Regions from separate parts of the Homo sapiens genome. Here region 2 is linked to region 1. Evidence: promoter capture Hi-C in 16 types of primary human blood cells and fetal thymus (Javierre and others, 2016). All regions are on one chromosome and are shown on one strand. The core of a region is centred on a gene start or on the middle of the fragment in contact, and the rest is flanking DNA. Distances in the headings are between cores, read along the strand shown.

Region 1 (5,496 bases), core at 1,858-4,357:
ATCCAGTCTCCCTATTATCCCCGCTCCAATCTCTTCTCCTCACCATAGCTAGAGGAATCCACATTGGTCACTCCCATGCTTAGAAATATCCCATTGAGTTCTGGGAAAAGGCCATGTTCCTTACTTGGGAATTGAAGGCCCTTTGAGTTTTGGCTTCAGCTCCCCCGCAGCCCCCAACTCCAACTTCTCAGCCATTCCAAACTACTTGTATTTCATCTGCTCTCACACATCCCTCCCTAGATTGCAGCTCCTCTTCTCTCTGCTGAGAATGCCTTTACCTTTCCCGGAAAACTCCTACTCATTCTTCATGACCCAATTCCAGGTTCTAGAACAAATATTCATTCTTTCACCAGTTACTTATTAATCACCTCCTATGTGACAAGCACTATTCTAGATGCCAGGGATTCAGTAGTGACCATAGCTGACAAAAATCCCAGCCCCATGAAGGTCCCATGGAATGTGCATGTTTTTGTTTGTATGGGTGCAGATAAATCTCTGGAAGGGGACACTCCTTGCGAGGGGAGTGGCAGAAGACTTTTGTTGTGTCTTTTCTTTTCTTTTCTTTTCTTTTTTTGAGATGGAGTTTCACTCTTGTTGCCCAGGCTGGAGTGCAATGGCACAATTTTGGCTCACTGCAACCTCCGCTTCCTGGGTTCGAGTGATTCTCCTGCCTCAGCCTCCTGAGTAGCTGGGATTATAGGTACCCGCCACCATGGCCGGCTAATTTTTTGTATTTTTAGTAGAAACAGGGTTTCACAATGTTGGCCAGGGTAGTCTCGAACTCCTGACCTCAAGTGATCCACCTGCCTTGGCCTCCCAAAGTGCTGGGATTACAGGTGTGAGCCACCATGCCTGGCTTGTTGTGTCTTGTATGTCTGTTCTCTCTCTGTTTCCATACACACCACAAGAATGTGTGACTTTTTTGAGACAGAGTCTCACTCTGTCACTCAGGCTGGAGTGCAGTGGCAAGATCTTGGCTCACTGCAACCTCCACCTCCCAGGTGCAAGTGATGCTCGTGCCTCAGCCTCCTGAGTAGCTGGGATTACAAGTGTGCACCACCACACCCAGCTAATTTTTTGTAGAGACAGGGTTTCGCTATGTTGGCCAGGCTGGTCTCGAACTCCTAGCCTCAAGTGATCCACCCACCTCGGCCTCCCAAACTACTGGGATTACAGGTGTGAGCCACCGTGCCTGACCAGAATGTGTGACTTTAATAATAAAAAAGCGAACGAAAAATATATGACCAAGAAAAGATTCAGCACTCAATCCTGAATAAGTCCATTCATTCAAGAGGGCAGTTTCTAAAAGGAGCAAGCAACCAACATCCCTCCCTGTGATCTACAACAGGAGTCATTGATTCAAATGTCTGGAGGAGCCAGGCAAGTGCTGTAAACGAGTGACCAGGTGGGGACCAGCTTAGAAGAGGAAGGCATTGGTGGAGGGGCAGTCCCATTCAGCTCCAGCCTATTGTTCTGTTGTGGGAATGTGTGCCTAGATCTTTTGCTGCTGCTTCTTTTTTTTTTTTTTTGGGTAAAAAAACGGAAGTCTGGATTTCTTTTCTTCTTCTTCTTCTTCTTTTTTTTTTTTTTTGTAGAGACAGAGTCTTGCTCTGTCGCCCCGGCTGGAATGCAATGGCGTGATCTCTGCTCACTGCAACCTCTGCCTCCTGGGTTCAAGCAATTCTCCTGCCTCAGCCTCCCGAGTAGCTGGGACTACAGGTGTCCGCCACCACGCCGTTAATTTCTTTTGTATTTTAGTAGAGACGGGGTTTCACCGTGTTGCCCAGGCTGGTCTGAAACTCCTGAGCTCAGGTAATCTGCTCGCCTCTGCCTCCCAAAGTGCTAGGATTACAGGCCTCAGCCACTGAGCTCAGCCGGAAGTCTGGATTTCTGATGTGAATGTACATATTCCGACTTTGTGTGTGTGTGTGTGTGTGTGTGTGTGTGTGTGTGTGTGTGTGACAGAGTCTCGCTCTGTCGCCCAGGCTGGAGTGCAGTGACGCGATTTCGGCTCACTGCAAGCTCTGCCTCCTGGGTTCAAGCCATTCTCCTGGCTCAGCCTCCCGAGTAGCTGGGACTACAGACACCTGCCACCACGCCCGGCTAATTTTTTGTATTTTTTAGTAGAGACGGGGTTTCACCGTGCTAGCCAGGATGGTCTCGATCTCCCGATCTCGTGATCCGCCGGCCTCAGCCTCCCAAAGTGCTGGGATTACAGGCGTGAGCCACCACGCCCAGCCTCTATATTCTGACTTTAAAATACTGGTAGTTAAGCCATTTATTAGAATATTGGCAGGTAAAACAGAGCTCTATTCAGCTGCAGGCCACCAGTTTTCGACCTCTGATTCACAGCTTTCCTGGGCCTTCCATGGACGTTACTTGCTGTACCAGGCACTGCGCTCTTTTGCATAGGGATGAGTTCCAGTCATCACTGGGGTCCCAGGCCAGGATCTGTGTCTGTTCCTCTTGCTTCAACCCGACTAGGCCTGAGGAGTTGAGGGTAGTGGAGGCCCTCAAATAATTGGGAATTCTGAGTCTCCAAAGGCGCGAAGCTGGGGCGCCTGACGGCAGGCACGGCTTAAAGGCTTGCCCAGGGCCACCCGGGGAGGACAAGGGTTGGAATGCAGGACTCCGCCTTCAATTCAGAGCTCCTTTCTCCAGGACTAGAAAAGGTTATTCCAGAGACGGGACTTGCGGCCAGAAGCCCAAGACGTCCTAGTCTTCGCGAATCCGCCCCATTAGAGCGACCGACAAAAACTACAAATTCCAGCATGCCCCGAGTCGCGGACGGCCCTCGCGCTCCCGCCGGCTCCAACCATCCCTCTGCTCCTCATTGGCTCGCAAGCCTAACGTGCTGTTCCGTGACTGGTTACAGCTCTTGTCGCTCGAAAGAACCCATTGCTGGGGCTGGCCGGCGTGTGCCTTGGAGCCTCTAAGGAGATGAAACTGCACTCAACCAGGATGAGAGGCTGCCCGGCCAATGCAGCTGCCGCCCCGTCTGCTGCGGAGGCTTTGCTTTTTGACTCCCTGGCGACAGTAAAGTTGAAGAGCTTCCGGCCGGAGGCCAATAGATGGGACCCCCGGAAGGCGGAAGTTCTAGGGCGGAAGTGGCCGAGAGGAGAGGAGAATGGCGGCGGAAGGCTGGATTTGGCGTTGGGGCTGGGGCCGGCGGTGCCTGGGAAGGCCTGGGCTTCTCGGCCCCGGCCCTGGCCCCACTACACCTCTCTTTCTTCTTTTGTTGTTGGGGTCTGTGACTGCGGATATAACTGACGGCAACAGTGAACATCTCAAGCGGGAGCATTCGCTCATTAAGCCCTACCAAGGTGAAGCCCTTGGGGCGGGAATGAGTGAAGAGTGAGGGCGAGGCTGAACAGGGCTAGGGGAAGGCGTGCCCTTTCTCCTGAGCAGAGCATCTCTGTGGGTTTCCTGCCTCTGGTGAGGCCAGTCCTGGCGTGGCCTCTTAGCACCTGTCTCTTCCCACAGGGGTCGGTTCCAGCTCTATGCCCCTCTGGGACTTCCAGGGCAGCACTATGCTCACGAGCCAGTACGTACGTCTGACCCCTGACGAGCGCAGCAAAGAGGGCTCTATCTGGAACCACCAGGTGAGTGGTTCTCAAGAGGATAGGCGTACTGTGCGGTTGGCTGCTAGTCCCTGCCTCCCGAGCAGCTGAGACCCCAGCTTCGTTTATAGGTTTGCACCTCCGTCCCTGGCCTTTTCCTCATCTCGGTCACACCCACCAATAATAAGAGGCGATGGGTATTGGGTACTTACTATGTGTCAGGAGCTGCGCTTGACACTTTACATCCTCCTCACTTTAAAAGCCATGCGAGATGAGTAATGTTATCTCCATTTTACCCACTGAGAAGCTAAGACTCAGGTTTGAAAGGGCCTTACCCAAAGTTACATAGCCAGAAAGTAGTGGAACTGTCAGGCTGTCTGCCTTGAACCCCCTCAGTAATGGGAAGAACCGAGCGAACTGGATCTTTATTGGGTGTTTTGCTGTGTATTAGGCACTGACCTTGCCATGCCTTATTGCATTTAATTTTCAAACAAGCTGTTTGAAATAGATGGCTTTCATGACTATACAAAGATAACCCAGCTAGCAAATGTCATAAACAGTATTTAAACTCTGATTTGTCTGATCTCTAAGCCCAGCAGTTCACTCGATGTACTTGACTCTTTTCACCTGGACAGTGGAGGAACCCCTTAGAACCCTTTTTGCAATGCTTGGTTGAGGGTCTTGTCATCAGTAGTGTGGAGGGACTGGACCTGTGGGCAGTTCTAGTGTCTGTGACCTTTGCCTCAGAGTATGTAGTATGTAGTATGTGAGCAGTGGCCAATGACAGCTGCTACACAGAATCCACACTGAGGCAGTCAAGGTGAGGAAAAAGGGGAAAGAAGAATAATTTGGGGCTGGGTTACAGCTTGGAGCGGGACCTGCTCCTGCCCCAGCTTGCCTAATCTCAGCCCTTCCCATGGCTTAAGCTGTTGGCCAGTGTTCTAGTTTTCTCCATCACCCTGCTCTCTGATCCCTGCTGGTTGACTTTCTTGTTTAGTTCTGGGAACCCACACTGTCCTTGTGTTGCCTGGTCTGCCCGTCCCCTCTGCTCCTCCTCTCCTTCCTGCCCCGAGCCTCCACACTGCTGTTAGTGGCATCTGCGGATACTTTCTTCAGCTTTCAGTCTGATCCTCAGAGCGTGGAGTCCCCTGTGAAGGGGTAAGCATGCATTATGTCTGCACAATCTGGCCCCTTGTGCATCTCCAGTCATTCTCTGTGTTAATTTTGTTCCAGCCCCCCCTGGCTGCCTTCTTGCCTCAGGACCTTTGCACCTGTTGTTCCCTCTGTCTGGGACACTGCCTCCTGGCTCCTCATGCCTGCTTGGTTCCTTCTCATCTGTTAAGTCTCAATTCAAGTGCCACCCACGCAGACATTTCTTCATTAACCACCCTATCTCCCCCGAGTCACATTCTGTCACATTCTGTCTTAGGGCTTTCAGATATTTTAAAGAAATGATAATTCAGCCTTATATTTTTCATGGAAATGAGTTCAGTATAGCATTATTATTATTTTTTGAAAGCAAGGTGCAAACAGTGCTGGAACTGTAGAAATCAGGAGTAGCCACAAGTAATAGACGCATCTAAGACAGTGGCTTACATTTTGGTTGTAGATAGCTGATGGTTGGCATCATCAGTGGCTCGAGGATGTCACAGGACTGAGAGGCTTCTGCACTTGCCTTCATCGAATTTTCAGTCTGGAGTACAATTGTTTTGCCTTCCTTCCTCCACCTTTCTATTTGGCTCTGCTGATATTCCTGAAACATTTGGAGTGCTTCCTGTAAACTCTGGAAAGAAATGGCTTGGAAATCAGAATTTTCTGTTCAGTGTTTCCCAAGAACTGCCTCTTCCTTTAATGAGCTGGAGAGATGCTTCCTAAACTTTTCCCTTTTTTATCTCCTTCATTCACTCCATCCGGGAGAGGCATGCACTCAGGCGAA
Region 2 (5,496 bases), core at 1,677-4,176, 450 kb after region 1:
TGCTGTCTCTAGATCACCAGTTTGTGAATCTCTGCAGGTGGCAGATTTCCCTTGGCAACTTCCTTGTTCCTCAAGTCCAGAATTGAAGTAGATTTATTCAGAGGTTGTTCATTCAAAAGTGTTCATCTGAGTGCCCCTGCAGCTGAGTCTGTTGGACACTAATGCTCACCGTCTGTGGGTTTAGGGGATTGGGGATCTGTGCTACCTGGATAGGCCTGATGAGAAGCAGTGCCTAGAGCACGGAAGCAAAAGATCAGTGAGAAGTGCTATGATTACCAACACTACTACCAACATTATTATTTTTTCTTTTATATCACAGATGCAGACATCAAGTCTTCAGAAACAGGAGCCTTCAGGTGAATTGGATTGTGCACTGAATTGTGGCTGTCAGCATTTCTGAAAAGTGCAGGCCTTGTCCTGTGTTCTGTGTGTAGTGTGATACTCAGACTGTTGCAGTAGAAATCACTGTGGAACTATTATGACCTCTCTCTCAGTATGACTCTGTGCTCCCCATTTAGCTAAAGATTGGATAACTCAATTCATTCATTGTGTTAAAACAAACAGAGTGAAAGTTATGTCTTATTCTTCTGTACCTCTCTATCCCCATCCAACCCTGGTTTTCTGACCTGGATTCTCAAGCAGCTTGGGAATTTGGATCTCAGTTCTCATTCTCTCAATGGCCAGCTTTAAGTAGTATATGATTTACCCAGTGACCTCATCTGTGAAAACAGAGTGATGATATGTGGTGGGATTATTACAAAGATTATTTGTACTAATAATCCCCTGATATGTAAAATCCCCTGATACAGTGCATAGCATGTCCTTGATGCTTAGTAGGTGTATATTGAATCTGAATTTTTTTCCTTCTCTCTAGGGTGCCTTCACCAGGGATGGAAGAGGCAGGCTGCAGCAGAGAGATGCAGAGTTCTTTCACACGTCGTGACTTAAATGAATCTCCCGTCAAGTCTTTTGTTTCCATTTCAGAAGCCACAGATTGCTTAGTGGACTTTAAAAAGCAAGTTACTGTCCAGCCAGGTAGTCGGACACGGACCAAAGCTGGCAGAGGAAGAAGGAGAAAATTCTGAATTTCTAGGGTCCAAAAGTTGACAAAACCATTAGTAGGAGGGGTGGGCCATGTTCATTAAGCCATAGTGGTCCCTAGTTCATTGTTGAGCAAGTTTTAGCCCTGCAGTTTTCACCACCAGCACCTACCCAGCATTCTGGTTTTTATGTTTTTTATGATCTATGCAGACAACTGTGTATTCTGTTTTATAACAGTTTGTTTGAATTTACTTACAGTTAAAAAATTTAAATATATTTATGTTTGTACGAAATCTTATTTCAATAGATGGAAATTTTAATTTTTTTTTCCTTCATGTTGCAGGGTTTGGGGTGGGGATACTTTCATTGTAGAGGTAGTTTATTAGACTCATAAATCACATGCTGAATGAATGCCATTACTGATCCTTGACATACCATGTATATATTCACTTAATGTGTACTGCACAATTCCGAACATTGGTTACTCCCTTGACTGTTTCTGACATAATTCTGGGAGGTGCCAGGGGCATTGACTCCCACTACCTATTCTGCTATCCCTACCATTCAGTGACCTGTCCCTTCATCTTGTACTCACACAGTGGAATTCTCAGCCTGAGCATAGAACATTTGAAGGATGTGTCCTGCCATTCTTCCCAGGAATGTGCAAGTGAACACTCTGTTATTAGATGCCTATGCAATTATTTTTTCTAAATAGATTAACCAGTGGGGATGCCAGGCATATTCATCTGTTCAAATCAAGATTGGGTCTCTTGATGCCAAAGGTTAGCAGCAACAGGACATGGCTTCTGTTTTGGTAACATTACTAACATAGCGCACATTCCTCACCGTGTTGCCTAGGAGCTTCCAGTGCAGAACAGAGATGTGGTCTGTTCTCGGTGCATGCCATGTGCAGACTCTGAAGATGAGAGGATGTCAATTGGCAGAAGGAGCTACCTGAAGGAGATGACCAAACAAGGATGTGAAGAATGCTAGTTTTGGCCAAAACTGATTTGAAGTTGTAATGAAAAACTGGGGGAGGTGGCTGTTGACCAGGAAAGGATCTTGGGACAGGATAAACAGGCACACTCAAGACTCTCCTAACTTCTGATTTTGTCCAAAGTTATCTTTTCTTTTAACATGAAAACGAGGTATGTGTTAGACTGGGGAGTTAGCAGATAGCTGGGATGGAAGACAGCACAAACATTAAGGCCTTGTTCCTGCCTAGGTCCCTTTGCACACAACCTTTTGAGTTAGAAGAAGGCAAGATGGCAGTCTCACTGTCTTTTCCTTCCATAGATAATGTCTTGCTGTTGGATGGCACTGACCTAGTGGCTAGCAGCACATAAGAAATAGCTGTTATTTTTTGAGCAACTACTACGGTCCAGGCAATGTATGTGGCCTTCATTTAATCCTCATAGCAACCCTATGGGGTATAGGTATTATCATCTCAATTTCCAGATGAGGAAGCAAAGGCTTAGAGTAACAAATAAGCCACTTTTTGTCCATGGCAGTGGAACCACAGTGCCCCTACTCTTCATTCCTGAAGAAAATGCTATATTTTGACTCCAGTATTGATTATTTTCCTGTTTTTCTTCTAGTGAAAAGTAGTTTATCAGTTATGTCCCATAAGCTTAACTCTCGCTTGTTTTCTCTTTCATTAAATGGCAATTTATTGGAGGTAGCGCTGTATAAACAGGGGACAGTGTGTGTATCTGTTTGCCTGAAGATAAGAAAAGGGAAAGGGTACTTCTGGAAAGTGAATTATTTAGCTTAAAATTGAGCAGTTTCCCTAAAACATGAGTCAGCAGCAGGAGGGTATGGATCAGCCAGACCAGGAACCACAGGCTTAATTATTAGCTAATGGGGAGTCAAGGGAAGAACAGCTACCCACTTCCCCCATCGCCTCCTCACAACCGTCTTGTTTGCCCACAGTCTTATTCTCCCCATGCTGTGATCCTGTGAGAGGAGCATTAGTGAAAGAGTGAAGAGACAAAGTATAAAATGTGTGAGATCAGCCTACATCTGCACCCTGCTTCTGATAAAAGTTAACCTCTCTGAGACCTGGCTTTCTTGTCCATAAAATGGGAAAAGATCATACTAACAGGGTTCTAAGGATTACCATAATGTGGATAAAGCTTTGATCCAGCACAATGTCATCACATAGAAGAATGAGTTAGTGGCAGCAGTTATTAATGTGATGCTAGTCTATGTGTCACAAATGATGTTGCACTGAGGGGTGGAGGGATGGGGGACGGGTGCAGATGCAAGAGGAGATAGTTTTCAGAGGAATGTGTACTCAGGAGGGACTACTCGGGCTCCATCAACCATCAGGCTTCCACAGGAAACTTGGGTCCCAGGCATCTAGAGTTCTCCTAGGGCCCCTGGATTTCTTTTACTTCTGAAAGATGAGAAATAGCTGTTCTGCTGATGCTGCCAACTCACGGAGAGCTGGGAAGCTCCATAAACTTCACAAGCTATTGCCGTAAATTGGAAGAGATAGAGGGGGACTTCTCTTTGTTAGGCGCTGTAGTTGTGCTTTTTCATTTAGTCCTTACAGCAGCCCCAGCAGAGGTTGTGCCTCGCCCATTTCCCCCAGGCATTCGCCATTCTGCTGTATACCCACAGAGTCCTGTTGCAAGTACCTGAGACTCTGCCTGAGGACTTCTCTTGGTTTGTGTTGGCACAAGCTGAGAGTACCAGGGAGTTAGTGCCCCTGGGACAGCTCTCAGCCAGTGGAAGTGGGAGGATAGATACCCCAGCTTCCTCACTCAGTGAGGGACAACTCTAAGGCACATTCTACCTATTTCTCAGGGTTCCCTGTGGGAGTGAACCTCTCTAAGCTCCCAGTAACAATTAACGTACACTTCCTTGGCTTCTTTCTCTTCCTACCTGGCTTCCAGCTCCTCTTCTGTATTTTCCTGATCAGGACTGGGACTAGGGTGATGAGCCTTTATTCTTGGGTTCATCTAAGTGCAAGGTTGGCACCCGTATGAACCTGAGAGGGTCTCTTTACATTCTGTACCCTAGGCATATCATTTGCATTGCCCTGATTCTGGCCCTGTCCTGGATCACTTCCCAAATAAAGTTATTTGCATTCAAATTAGGTCTGCCTCTGGGTTTACCTAACCTAAAGCAAATCCTATGAAGACATCAGTCTCCAAGTTTTATACAAGGAAAACCGAGGCTCAGAGGAATAAGAAATTTGTCTAAGGTCTTTCAGTTGGTAATGAGATGGGATTTTGAAACCAGGTCTGCCTGACCCCAGAGCTGAAGCTTTCTGTACTATAGCACACTACTTCCTACTTCTCATTTCAGTCACAAAACTAATGACTCAAGGGAAATTTCAGGTTTGGATGAGCTCATTTTTGCCTGTGAATCAGGGTAGCTTTGGCCTTAGGTTGTTAGCAGATGGGAATTTGGGGAGGGGAAGGCAGGTAGTAAGTGGATGAGAGGGTTGTAGTTGTCAGTGGAAAGATGGACTAGTGGAAAGACTGCTGAAACCATATGCACCAGGAAGACAGTAAGAGCTTGCTTGCTTCCTCTCAGTTTCAAAAGCCCTGGACTTTTTTTTTTTTTTTTTTTTTTTTTGAGACAGTCTTGCTCTGTCACCCAGGCTGGAGTACAGTGGCGTGATCTCGGCTCACTGCAACTTACCCTGCCTCCCAGGTTCGAGCAATTCTCTTGCCTCAGCCTCCCGAGTAGCTGGGATTACAGGTGCACACCACCACGCCCGGCTAATTTTTTTAATTTTTAGTAGAGACGGGGTTTCACTGTATTGGCCAGGCTGATCATGAATTCCTGACCTCAAGTGATCCGTCCACCTCGGCTTCCCAAAGTGTTGGGATTACAGGCGTGAGCCATCATGCTTGGCCAGCCGTGGACTATTGAGATTGTGGGAGGGCTCTTCAATTTAACAAAAATTAATTGATACTTGTTCCTTGCCAGATAAAGAACTGAGGTCTGAGGCTGCACGGGTGAATAAGAAACATTCTCTGGGAGCCCATAGTACAATGGGGAAGAAGAACACATAAACAGATGCCTTTAATAAACAGATATAAATGCAGTGATACAAGAACATGCATCATAATACGGAACCAATAAGCAGACCACACTCAGCTGGGGTCGGCCAGGAGGAGCTTTTCAGAGAAGGGCTCCTCATTGTCGTTGATGATTATAATTTAAGGGATGAGGAAAAATGAGGTGAAAAGGTGGGAGAGGCCAAAGGGAGGGTCATTCCAGACAAGTCAGTGCAAACAAAGACACAACAGAAGTAGCTCGATGTGTGTAGGAGAGCTGCAAGGCACATTCACGGTATAAAGGGTGTGGAACAAATTGGGGGAGCTTATTGAGGATCTCTGTGCCTGGCATGGGCACTGTGAGTGGTGAGAAGCCTGTGAGCAAGCGCAGAGGGAAGGCCTGACCTCCCAGCCCATCGGCAGTGCTCTGGTTGTGCCC

What was found. The method cuts DNA at HindIII sites, captures the fragments that hold promoters and counts their contacts. A CHiCAGO score of 5 or more calls a contact.
Region 2: a fragment that was not itself captured here is called in contact with the fragment with the promoter of LMAN2 in region 1 in 1 of 17 cell types (monocytes); the score reaches 5.3 in monocytes.

The regions. Positions count from the first base shown.
Region 1 is chr5:177,349,279-177,354,774 of GRCh38, reverse strand. LMAN2 (lectin, mannose binding 2) reads left to right here and starts at 3,107. Exons shown (of 8, transcript NM_006816.3): 1 at 3,107-3,323; 2 at 3,484-3,602. The coding sequence starts at 3,128. RefSeq lists enhancers at 2,917-2,966, 2,977-3,166 and a silencer at 2,808-3,022. The HindIII fragment of the contact is 10,936 bases long and covers 1-5,496 here.
Region 2 is chr5:176,900,871-176,906,366 of GRCh38, reverse strand. UIMC1 (ubiquitin interaction motif containing 1) reads left to right here. Exons shown (of 15, transcript NM_001199298.2): 14 at 320-356; 15 at 875-1,361. The coding sequence ends at 1,085. Among named protein-coding and RNA genes, the nearest start is that of HK3, 4.3 kb to the right of the region's middle. The HindIII fragment of the contact is 505 bases long and covers 2,674-3,178 here.